2 separate regions of the Homo sapiens genome follow, and region 1 is linked to region 2. The links are contacts of gene promoters, found by promoter capture Hi-C in human tissues and cell types (Jung and others, 2019). All regions are on one chromosome and are shown on one strand. Each heading gives the region's core, a stretch centred on a gene start or on the middle of the fragment in contact. The rest is flanking DNA. Distances are from core to core; before and after follow the strand shown. Region 1 overlaps PARL (presenilin associated rhomboid like). Region 2 holds the start of DVL3 (dishevelled segment polarity protein 3).

Region 1 (6,007 bases), core at 1,438-3,937, 290 kb before region 2:
CATCTATTAAGTATCAGTTTTTTAAAACCGTGATTAACTAGAAGAAAGAAAGCAGTGTTTATCTTTACCTCCTTTCTGAAGTCTCCTTCTTTTTGTGGTCTTATGCTATCCAACCAATCAGCTTTTATACCATCAAAATAACTCTGGACCCTGGATTTCAGTGATTCATATTGCCAAATAGCAGCTGATCCAAATGCACAGCCTGTAAACTATATAAAATTAGATATATTACAAAATAGATTTAAGAGGGAAATAGATCTATACATTATTTCCAAGGAGAATTCTTCACTGTCATTGCTTTTTACAAACCAACAGAAGGGAATACTTGGCACAGTGAAACCTAATAAGTGAAAAGGGCTTTTTTTTTTCTTTTTGAGATGGAGTTTCACTCTTGTCTCCCAGGCCAGACTGTAATGGTGCGATATGGGCTCACTGCAACCTCTGCCTGCCAGGTTCAAGTGATTCTCCTGTCTCAGCCTCTGGAGTAGCTAGGATTACAGGTACCTGCCTCCAGGCCCGGCTAATTTTTGTATTTTTAGTAGAGACGGGGTTTCATCATGTTGGCCAGAGGGGTCTCGAACTCCTGACCTCAGGTGATCCACCCACCTTGGCCTCCAGTGCTGGGATTACAGGCATGAGCCACTGTGCCTGGCCAAAAAGGACATTTTATTGTTTCCCATTGTATTAACTTCACAATACCCTGGGGCCTGTTTCCAGCTATAAATCCTCAAATAAAACTGAAAATACCAACTTAGCACCGCTTGAAATGCTGTACCAAACAAGGCCCATATGTTTATTCTCTAGGGCTTACATAAGTAAGCCAGAATTTAATAATAAAAGCAATTTTTAAGTTCAGACTCTAGGCCGGGCGCAGTGGCTCACTCCTGTAATCCCAGAACTTTGGGAGGCCAAGGCGGGCGGATCATGAGGTCAGGAGATCGAGACCATCCTGGCTAACAAGGTGAAACCCCGTCTCTACTAAAAATACAAAAAATTAGCCAGGCGTGGTGGCCAGTGCCTACAGTCCCAGCTACTTGGGAAGCTGAGGCAGGAGAATGGTGTGAACCCAGGAGGTGGAGCTTGCAGTGAGCCGAGATCGCGCCACTGCACTCCAACCTGGGCGACAGAGTGAGACTCCGTCTCAAAAAAAAAAAAAAAAATTCAGACTCTATAATTAGAATTCATGAGCCCAGCTCTTTTTGATCCCCCCTCTACCTGTCCTTACTTTAAGGGAGCCCAAATGGGACAAAGTACTTTAACACTGCATTTCTAGCAAGGTAGGTAACTCCTAGCAAAGTGAGCTCTTACCCCAACAGTAAAAAATAAAGGTTTTATGAGACTCCTTATAGGATAGGGAGAAGGATAAAAGACTGTTTCTTCCACAGGAGGAATCAAAGCACTTCTCTTGTATGCTTCACCACTTGTCCCTGGGTCTGATCTTCGAGGTTCAACCTTCCTGGGTGCTTTTCTGAATCCGCATTTTTGTTGAATAAAGAAGTTAAACCTATGGGGCAAAAATAACAGATGAGAAACACAGTAGCGTCTTGCAAATATCAACTTCTATGAACCTCCACTTGGCCTGCATCATCACCATCTCAATTTATTCTCACTCTACAGTCCAAAAACAGCCAAGACTCCTACTCTCAGACAGAATTCAAAGCCACAAAATTCAACCTTTCTGGAAAAGGTGACACACAAACTACAGCAACTTCAGAGGATACTACTTTGGGCTATTACTTTCTATCAGTCAACAAAATAATTTGTATCCATTCTCCACACAGAAAGAATCTGAAGACCTGGTAAAAAGCTAGAGAACTCTATAAATTGTCCGTTTCTTTTTTTTTTTTTGAGACAGGGTCTCCCTCCGTCGCCCAGGCTAGAGTACGATTACTCCCTCCCTCTGTCGCTCAGTGGTACGATCATGGCTCACTGCAGCCTCCACGTCTCAGGCTCAAGCGATCCTCCTGCCTCAGCCTCCCAAGTAGCTGGGACTACAAGCGTAGGCTACCACATTGTTAATTTTTGTACCTTTTGTAGAGATGGGGTTCTGCCATGTTGCCCAAGCTAGTCTCAAACACTTGGGCTCACACAATCCTCCTGCCATGGCTTCCCAAGGTGCTAGGACTACAGGCATGAGCCATGGTGCCCCACCAGTTGTCAGTTTCAGTCAGAATGACTTCTGGTTTTTTGTTTAAAGTTTGGTCAATTTCTGGAACAAATATTTAAATGTATTGTCCTTGAAGCCACTCCAAATTCAATAATTATTTTCTTTTCTAAGTATTGCCCATTATAAATTAAAACACTCCTCTCACCTCTCCCCTTTATTTCACTGTTTTGGGGACATCCACCAAATTATTTGTGAGCTGTTACCCCAACAGTTAAAAAAAAATTTTGTTGTTTGAGTCTACAGCTTGACTTCCTCAAAATATCTAACACTACTGATCATGCCTCCTAGTCCTAGCTTCTGTAACAGCACTTCCTACTCTTCAAATTCATCTTTAACTCCCGGTATCTTCCCCTTTTCCTCTACCCCATTCAAACTCAACCCATATAAATTCTTGAAACAGTCTTCTTTTTCTTTTGTAAAACTGTAACTTTCCCAGGTCACAAAGTAAAGATCCCTTTCTGTTTGTACCCTGAACATATTATCCCTTCTTATAATTATTCTGAGACAGAGTCTTATTCTGCCACCCAGGCTGGAGTACAATGACATAATCTTGGCTCACTGCAACCTCTGCCTCCCCAGATGCAAGTGATTCTCCTGCCTCAGCATCCCTAGTAGCTGGGATTATAGGCACCCACCACCACACCTGGCTAATTTTTGTATTTTTAGTAGATATGGGGTTTCACCATGTTGGTCAGGCTGGTCTCGAACTCCTGACCTCAGGTGATCCACCCGCATTGGCCTCCCAAAGTGCTAGGATTACAGGCATGAGCCACTGCGCCTGGCTATACCTTATTATTATAAGGGATAATAATGTATATTATTATTATTAAGGGATATTATGATATCCCTTCTAGAAGGGATAGTATGTTCAAAGATATTATATATATAACGAACAATATTCAGTGAGGAATATCATAACATATTATCCCTTCTACTAGCCTCAAAGCTCCTCAAAAGCAGAGCTCGGGTAGGTCTTTTGTCTTTGTATCCCAGCCCCTAAAACAAGCTATTTGGTTGAATTTTTGTGACCTGAATGACTTCTAAGCATGTAAATGATTCAAATTTATTTTAGTCCTAACCTGAACTTTCTACTCCAGTATTTCCAACTCTATACTGAATAATGCTACTTGGATATGCTCCCCATTACTTTAAAACCAATATATTCAAAATAGAATTAACTCATTCTCCTCTACAAACACCTCCATTTTCTGACGTACTCTTTCAATAAGACCACAGTTCTCTCAGTTACTGAGGTTAAAAATCTAGGCTGGGGGCCGGGCACAGTGGCTCACGCCTGTAATCCCAGCACTTTGGGAGGCTGAGGCAGGTGGATCACGAGGTCAGGAGTTTGAGACCAGCCTGGCCAATATGGTGAAACCTCGTCTCCACTAAAAATACAAAAATTAGCCAGGTGTGGTGGTGCACACCTGTAGAGTCCCAGCTACTCGGGAGGCTGAGGCAGAAGAATCGCGTGAACCTGGGAGGCAGAGGTTGCAGTGAGCCAAGATCACACCACTGCACTCCAGCATAGGTGACAGAGTAAGACCTTGTCTCAAAAAAAAAAAAATCTAGAAGTCATTTTGGAGTTATCTTTCCTTTATTCTTATTCAATTAAAAGCCAACTCTATCAAAAATACTTTTAAAATTCCTAGTCTAGTCCTTTATCTCATACCTGGATCATGGCAACACTTTCCTTAACTTCAAACACTTTAACCTGTTGCATGTTCTTCTGGCCTCACACTGCTTTTCCTCCACATTCTATAGTTTCTCAAATGTCCTCTCAGAGGGCCAAAAATCTCTTCCTAATTCTAATGCAACTCCTTAGCTCATCCCTTCTGGCCTGGAATACGCCACCATTTCCTAGCAGATCTCCTTGCTTCCAGTACTGCCCCACTCCAAGTGCATCCTTCACATTGTATTAAGCACAAATGTAATGTTCCCTTGCTTTAAACCCCACAATAACTTTTCATCACCCCATCAAACTCAGCACACATCCCTTCAATCCGACCCCTTCCTCTCTCTTGCCACTTCCTCCCTCTGCCACCTCAAATCCTCTCTATACCTGTTATACTGACTTTCTTGCAGTTCCTATGATCTGTTTTGCTCTCTTAACTACGACAATGCTACTCATATTTTGGTATATACTTCCCTTTAACTTTTTTGGGCCCTTCAGATTTCAGTTAATATATCTCCTCCTCCAGGAAGTCTTCCCTAGCTGCCCCAGGCTGGGTACTTCTCTCCTTTGCACTTCTAGAGTTCCAAAGCAGTTTTTTTAATACTTATCTCCACTACTGCCCACGCCCCCATTAGATTACAGTTTTATATTCATTATATCTCTATCACCAAGTCTAGTCCCTAATAAAAGGTCAATAATTATCTGTCAGAATAAAAAAGGGATCAAAAAATGATTAAGCTTTATTGTGAGTAACTCAAAGTAAGATGGTACTATACTCAAAGTAAGGTGGTACTATACTCAAAGTAAGGTAGTACTATACTGAAAGTAAGGTGGTACTATTCTCAAAGTAAGGTGGTACTATACTCAAGGTGGTACTATACTCAAAGTAAGGTGGTACTATATTCAAAGTAAGGTGGTACTATTCAATAAGATAAGGAAAATTGGAAGCCTCAAAATAGGCAACTGGGAGATAAGAGACGAACAATTCCAGCTGGGGTGCTGTTTAAAATGCTTGCAGTCATGGCAGCTTCATTCCTCTAGCTAAAAACTGAAACTTAAATTTCCATTAACAGGAGAAATTCTGTGGTATATTCATATAATGGAATATTACACTTGGCCAAAAAAAAAAAAAAAGGCTTGGGGGGGAGGGGTGGGGAAGAACTAATCATACATCATGGATAACTCTCAAAAACACTTTTGGCAAAAGAAGTAAAATACAAAAGAGTACATGATATGTGATTCTGTGACTTCCATTGCTAAGAAGTTGACAGACACACTAACCTGTAGTGATAAATATTAGATGAGCGATTGCCTGGAATGGGTGGGGCTTGACAGGAAAGGAGCAAGAGGAAACTTGCTGGGATGACGGCCATCTTTATCTTGATTTAGGTGATAGTCACACAGGTGTATACATTAATCAGAATGCACTGGCTGTATATTTAATACTTATACATTTTACTATATGTAAACTGTATCTCAATAAAGTATTTAAAAGAATGCTCATAGGACATCCAGGTGGAGGTATCTTAATAGGCATTTTGGAAATAAATGAAACTCAGAATAATAGCATAGCTACTACTACTATTACTTGCCTAGAATGCATTTTTTTTTTTTTTTTTTGAGATGGAGTTTCGCTCTTGTTGCCCAGGCTGGCATGCAATGGCGTGATCTCAGCTCACTGCAACCTCCACTTCCCAGGTACGAGCGATTCTCCTGTCTCAGCCTCCCAAGTAGCTCGGATTACAGGCATGTACTGCCACACCTGGCTAATTTTTTTGTATTTAGTAGAGACGAGGTTTTACCACGTTATTCAGGCTGGTCGCGAACTCCTGACCTCAGATGATCCACCCGCCTCGGCCTCCCAAAGTGCTGGGATTACAGGCATGTGCCACCATGCCTGGCCTAAGAATGCCCTTTCTCTTCAACACTGAGTCCACTCAATTCAACTCAGAAATCACAGTGAGGAAAGTGATTATAATTTGACTTGAGATTTTAATTTCAGAATTTATACTTCCAAATAAGTGATATTCCTTTCAAAGAAATCTATTACAGAAAAAGCAGAAAAGGTTTGAGTAAGTTCATCTATTTTGGAAAGTTATAAACTTATGCAACCAATGGTACTGTTGCTCTAAATGGCTCTTAACTCCCTTCAGAGCCTGTTACCA
Region 2 (6,825 bases), core at 1,240-3,739:
ACCTGTAGTCCCAGCTACTCGGGAGGCTGAGGCAGGAGAATGGCATGAACCCGGGAGGCGGAGTTCACAGTGAGCCAAGATCGTGCCACTGCACTCCAGCCTGGGCGACAGAGCAACACTCCATCTCAAAAAAAAAAAAAAAAAAAAAAAAAAAAAAAAAAAGCCGGGCGTGGTGGCTTGCGCCTGTAGTCCCAGCACTTTGGGAGGCCGAGGCAGGTGGATCACGAGTTCAGATCAAGACCATCCTGTTTAACACAGTGAAACCCCGTCTCTACTAAAAAAAACACAAAAAATTTGGCGGGCGCCTGTGGTCCCAGCTGCTCGGGAGGCTGGCGTGAACTCAAGAGGCGGAGCTTGCAGTGAGCCGAGATTGTGCCACTGCACTCCACCCTGGGCGACAGAGTGAGACTCCATCTCAAAAAAAAAAAAAAAAAAAAAAAAAAAAAGCTGTTTAAATACTATTTGACTTCCAAACATATTACTTTGATAAAAAATGTAAAGAAGGTGAAGGAAAGGGTATGAAGTGACGATATACATAAGGTGTGTGCAGGGGCTAGCAAGTGGGTTCATTTTCCTGGAGTCAAAAATTTGGCCAGGATATGAGACAAAAGGCTGTAAAAGTAGGTAGAGGTTAGATTATGGGGGGCCTTGAATAGGGATATTTGGGGGCTTTGGGGAATGTGGAAAGGTTTCTGAGTAGAAGAGGTATCTGAATGATGTTGTTATTCTAGTGTTAATTTGGCAACAGTGTATAAAATGGAGTAGAAGGAGCCCATACTTAAGACCATAGCATCCAAGGCCCTATGTAATCTGGCGGGTCTATGTTTCCAGCCTCACCTAGGACTGTTCCTTTAGTCATGATGGCCTTCTTATTCCTCAAATGTAACATGTTTATTCCTGCCTTGAGCCTGTATATTGGCTGTGCCCTCTGCCTAGAAGGCTGTCACCCCAGATCTTCTCATAGCCACTTCATCCTTGCTATTTCTAGGTCTTTTTTTCTGGAAGAAGTTTTCTCTAACCAATCAGAAACCTCTTTCTCGTTTTGTTTTGGTTGTTTTGTTTTTGTTTTTGTTTGAGGCGGAGTCTCGCTCTGTCGCCCAGGCTGGAGTGCAGTGGTGGGATCTCGGCTCACTGCAAGCTCCACCTCCCGGGTTCAAGCGATTCTCCTGCCTCAGCCTCCCGAGTAGCTGGGACTACAGGCATGCGCCACCATGTCCAGCTAATTTTTGTATTTTTACTAGAGACGGGGTTTCACCATTTTGGCCAGGCTGGTCTCGAACTCCTAACCTCAGGTGATCCACCTGCCTCAGCCTCCCAAAATGTTGGAATTACAGGCATGAGCCATTGCGCCTGGCTTCCCCTGTCACTATCCCATCACTTTGTTTTACCTTCTTCATAGCAGTGGTCACTCTGAAGTTATGTATTTACAAGCCTATGTGCTTCCCTCCAGCTGAGGGAAGGTCCTGAGAGCAGCCTTGTCTGTCTCGCTATCGCTATATCTCATGCGATATGCCTTATACACAGTAGGCCTTCAGTATTTATTAAATGAATTAAAAGTTAAGGGGTGAGGAGATCTGTGAGGAACCGGCTATACCTAGTTCTGGAGTTCTGGTTTGAGACTTACTGTCTTAGGCATGCATGCATCCACTTATCTTTTTTTTTGGGGGGGGGCGAGGGGGGATGGAGTTTCACTTTTGTTGCCCAGGCTGGAGTGCAAAGGCAGGATCTCGACTCACCGATCTCGGCTCACCGCAACCTCCGCCGCCCGTGTTCAAGCGATTCTTCTGCCTCAGCCTCCCGAGTAGCTGAGATTACATGCATGCGCCACCACGCCCGGCTAATTTTTTTGTATTTTTAGTAGAGACAGGGTTTCTCCATGTTGGTCAGGCTGGTCTTGAACTCTCGACCTCGGGCGATCCGCCCGCCTTGGCCTCCCAAAGTGCTGGGATTAGAAGCGTGAGCCACCGCGCCCGGGCCCCACTTATTCCGCATTCAACCCATTTATTAAACCACTACCTTGCAACTGGACGCTAAGGTTATAGGGAGGAATCAGAACTGGATGCTGTCCTTCTCTCGAGATCAGTTTAGTAGACTCAGTGACAGCAGTTGTGCTTCTCAAGAAACACTGAAGGGCCATGTTGAGGTCATTCTCCTCCAGGGATCCAGAGTCAGACCCACCCTCTTTCCCCAGACCATTTCTGGGGACCAAAGCAATCCCTGCATTCCACTCTTCCTGGACTGCAGAGGAGTCGCCGATCCCACTTGGGTCCGGAGTCAGGGCCTTCAGGGGTCCGGGAACGCCGCCATCCCGGTGAATCTCCCCTTCCGTTTCTAGGGACCCGGGACCGGAGCGCCGCGGCCCGGCCAGTGGGCGGGAAACCCTGCCATCTGCCGCGACGCCGGCGCCTCTCCGCGGCGGCCGGGGGCGGGGCGCGCCGGGGCGGGGCCGCGCCGGGCCGGAGGAGGGGAGCGGGCCCGGACGAAGCCCTGGGCCGGGAGGGCCGCGGCCACCGGAAGAGTCGCGGTCGCCAGTCCAGTCGGGAGAGTGGGGAGCGGAAGCGGCGGCCGCGGCGGCGGCGGGCGGCGCTGGGACCCGGTAGCGGCCGGAGAACAAGGGAGCTGGCGCCGCCAGCAGCCGCCGAGCTGGGTTGAGCCGCTGGGCCGCGCCGCGCGCCGCCGCCGTCTGGGAGGCTCGGCCCGGCCGCCCGAGCAGGCCGCGCGCGGGCCGCCGGGCCCGAGGCCAGAGCCATGGGCGAGACCAAGATCATCTACCACTTGGATGGGCAGGAGACGCCGTACCTTGTGAAGCTGCCCCTGCCCGCCGAGCGCGTCACCTTGGCGGACTTTAAGGGCGTTTTGCAGCGACCCAGCTATAAGTTCTTCTTCAAGTCTATGGACGACGATTTCGGGTGAGGATGGCCCCCGCCCCGCCTCCGGGAGCCCCGGCCGCTCTGGCTTCTAAGGGATGACGCGGTCCGTTTCGACTTGCCTCGCTACACCGGCTCCTAGCCCCGCTCTGACTTCTAGGGGCGACTCGGCCCATTTGGGCCCCTTTGGTTCCAGCCCCAGTAGCAACTCCCGTTTACCTCTGAAGAGGGGACGTTGGCCTCCCTTGTTTAAGGGGACGTCCAATTCCCCACTAGCAATCAGAGTTCCTGCCGGTGCGGTCCCCTTACCTCTTCAGAGACCAGTGGCCCACAGAGACAGACACACCCCCCCTCCACCTAGTTTCAGAGCCCGAGTCCCCCATCCTCCTCCTGCCGAGGAGCCAGAGCCACCTTTTTCCGCACAGACTTGGGTCGTGTGGCCCTCGTTCTTCGCCCCCTTCATCTTTTCAGCAGCACAGCTCCCAGCCATATTTGGAGTATGCTGCATCTGAGGGCTCTGCTGGGACTTTGAGCTGGGGGAGGGGTGTCGGGGGTGCTCGGGCGCCTGGCCGCGAGCGGGGTCTGCAGATCTGATGTTTATCTAGCTGCCTGCCCTCTCCTTTGTGGGCTGTTGTGGGTGTTGTCACCGGAACAGAGAGCCTGACCCCTGCGGAGTAGTCCTCACTGACCCAGGTGCTGATCTTTCCTCCAATTCGGGCTTTTTTCCTCCAGTTGGTGGCCAGTGGAGAGACGTTAGGAAGGGCCTGGGGCCTGGGTGGGATAGCCAGGAAGAGTTTCTTGGTGTTCTCTATCTTCCCCTCCCTGGTGGGGTCTTCCCTTCCACCCAGCTGCAGAGATCTGGACAGGCACAGTTTGGAAGCAGTCACTTTCCCTTTAAGAGGGGATGGAATGTTGGAGCCGGAAGGTTCTGAAGCAGCTGGCCTGGGAAGAGGGGGGCCTGGCTGATCCCCCTCGAACCCCCCCAACTCCCAGGAGACTGGGGGAGGGGGAGGCGCCCACACTTGCCTGCCGCCTCACTAACTGGGCGCTGGGCCTGGAGGCGGTGGGGAAGGCCCCTCCAGGCCTGAAGGCTGCCTCTCCAGCCCTAGCCTGAGGCCTGCACTGCTCTTTGGAGCTGAGGCCCCACAGCCAAGAGGAGACATTCTTCTCCCCAGTGTTCATCTGTCTGGCTTCTCTCCCAAGCCCCTGGCCCACCTAGCACTAGGAAGCAAGCACCTTCTGTCTAATGCCTGGCATGTTTTGCTGTCACCTTCTGCCCTGGAACTCAGGGTTGGATGAGCCCCTGAAATCATGTGTGTGAGAGTGCTTTGTACAGTGGGCAGTGCTTTGTAGATTCTAACTATTCTTGTTTCTGTTGTTGTTCCTGCCCTGGGGTGGGGTGCTCCTGGTGTGATAATGATTGTCTGCCTTCAGCCCAGAGACAGACACCTCTAATTGGAAGATTCTGAGGAGGGATGGATCTAGAAGGGGTCTGGGTGAGGGGGTGGATACTTTGGCCTGGCAAGAGAAGAATAGGGTTAGAAGGGATCAAGCTACTGCCTCCACATAAGGAATGGGGGAAGATGAGCCAGAGTCCAGTGCCCTGGGGCCACCTCAGATCCAGATGCCTTGAGGGACTAAGATAGGCTGTCTCTCCACCCTGTACTTATCTCCAGACCCACTGGACCTGGCCCCTGCCTCCTAAGCCTGGACAACTCTGGGCTGCTCTCCCAATCCCAAGGCCTAACTGCAGTTTTAAGAGGGCCCCCATTACATCCAGTCACTGTTACTTAATATTTTTCTTTAAATCCATTGTCAGTCCACTTACTGTTTTTCTTAGCTTGAACCAAGCAATAATATGAAACCATAGGTCTGACTTTTCTGTTTATATTTCTTTCTAAAATATGTTTAACATAAATATTTAATGATTGAACTAAGCAATGTTAATCTGTGTGCCACCTGAAGCCATCTTGCAAACATCAGTGGTACTTGAACCAAAATCAGAGTTGGACCATTTTAGCAGGGTTGAAAACAGTATTAAAAATGAAGTGGAGGAGATGGATTCTGTTTGTATCCCCAGAAGGATAAATGAGCAGGGGAACTGATAGAGCTGTCTTGTCACAGAGGACTAATAGCTGAAGAGCATATATATATGTTTCATTTATTTAACACACGCCTTTTATGCTTAGTGTGCCAGGGACTAATCTAAATGCTTTTCAAATCTTCACTCATTTAATCTTCGAAACAGCCTTATGAAATAGATAGCGTAATAGTATCTCTAGTTTACAAATGAAACTCTGTCAGGCATGGTGGCTCACACCTGTAATCTCAGCAATTTGGGAGGCTGAGGTGGGAGGATTGCTTGAGGCCAGGAATCTGAGACCAGCCTTGGCAACATAGCAAGACCCCATCTCTACAAAAAAATTTTTTAATTAGCCAGGCATGATGCTTTGTGCCTGTAGTCCCAACTTGGGAGGCTGAGACAGGAGGATCACTTGAGCATAGGAGTTTGGGGCTGCAGTGAGCTGTGATGGTGCCACTGTACTCCAGCCTGGAAAATAGAGTGGGACCGTGTTTCAGAAAAAAAAAAAAAAGGAAACTAGAGCACAGAAAGCTTAAGTAACTTGCCTAAGGTCACACAGCTAATAAGAGGCAGAGCAGAGCTTGCTTTGACATCAGGAATCTGGATCCAAAAATCTAAATCCTTAATCGCACAATTTTAGGTGTCATTATTATCACCATTTTACTGATGAATCCTCTCCGAGGGAGGTGGTAAGCCTTGGAAAACTGTAGAGGTGACAAGGCCACCATTTCTCCGAGCCCCACAAGAGGAAGGTCAGGCGGAGGTCAGTGACCCTAGAGGAAGGAAAGTGGGTCAGAGGAGGAAGGCTGCTGTCTCTCCAGTTTCTCCACTCCTGGCTCAGCCTTTGAGGTGCTAGTTGTGAGGCTCCTCAAGTCCCATCTGGTCTACAAAAGTATTTGTCAAGCTCAGGGTAGGCCCAGCCATCTTTTTAAATTTTTTTTCTTTTTTTTTTTTTTTTGAGGAGTTTTGCTCTCGTCACCCAGGCTGGAGTGCAGTGGCGCAATCTCGGCTCACTGCAACCTTCGCCTCCCGGGTTCAGGTGATTCTCCTGCCTCAGCCTCCCAAGTAGCTGGGATTACAGGCATGAGCCACCATGCCTGGCTAATTTTAGTATTTTTGGTAGAGATGGGGTTTCACCACGTTGGCCAGGCTGGTCTGGAACTCCTGACCTCAAGCAATCCACCCACCTCGGCCTCCCCAAGTGCTGGGATTACAGGTGATGAGCCACCGCGCCTGGCCTGCCATCTTAAGTTATTTGAGAAATGGAGGAAGGATAAACATTTTCAGCATTGAGGGCATGGTGGATGGTTCATAGAAGTAAGGTGCCTACTGCTAGTCTGGCCTTGAGCTGTGAGAGAGGGCAGCATGGCGATCAGGTCATTAGCTGTGTGGCTTCCTGCTCCACTGTCCTCCCTCTGGGCCTTCCACCTGCAGACTCTTCTTCCCCTGTCTCCTCCAGGTTCAAATTCTCCTGTCTTCTGGGTTGAGCTTTTCTGTGAGAACTGTCATGGCACTCTCTTATTTTATCCTTTTTTTTTTTTTTTGAGATGGAGCCTGGCTTTGTCACCCAGGCTGGGGTACAGTGGTGCGACCTTGGCTCACTGCAACCTCTGCCTCCCGGGTTCAAACGATTCTCCTGCTTCAGCCTCACAAATAGCTGGGACTACTGGTGTGTGCCACCACACCTGGCTAATTTTTGTATTTTAAATAGAGATGGGGTTTTGCTACGTTAGCCAAGCTAGTCACGAACTCTTGACCTCAAGTGATCCGCCCACCTTGGCCTCCCAAAGTGCTGGGATTACAGGTGTGAGCCACCGTGCCTGGTATATTTTATCTTTATATCCTGACACCTGTGTAACACTCAGCAGATGTCTA

What was found. Contacts are between HindIII fragments. The study calls those that stand out against the background at their distance.
Region 1: a contact is called between a fragment that was not itself captured here and the fragment with the promoter of DVL3 in region 2, in 1 of the 25 tissues and cell types used here (aorta).

What each region holds. Positions count from the first base shown.
Region 1 is chr3:183,866,557-183,872,563 of GRCh38, forward strand. PARL (presenilin associated rhomboid like) reads right to left here. Exons shown (of 10, transcript NM_018622.7): 2 at 1,309-1,504; 3 at 69-209. Among named protein-coding and RNA genes, the nearest start is that of PARL, 15 kb to the right of the region's middle. The HindIII fragment of the contact is 7,346 bases long and covers 1-6,007 here.
Region 2 is chr3:184,152,888-184,159,712 of GRCh38, forward strand. It overlaps DVL3 (dishevelled segment polarity protein 3), which reads left to right and starts at 2,490. Exons shown (of 15, transcript NM_004423.4): 1 at 2,490-2,909. The coding sequence starts at 2,749. RefSeq lists a silencer at 2,387-2,736 and enhancers at 3,074-3,951, 3,952-4,827. The HindIII fragment of the contact is 10,362 bases long and covers 1-6,825 here.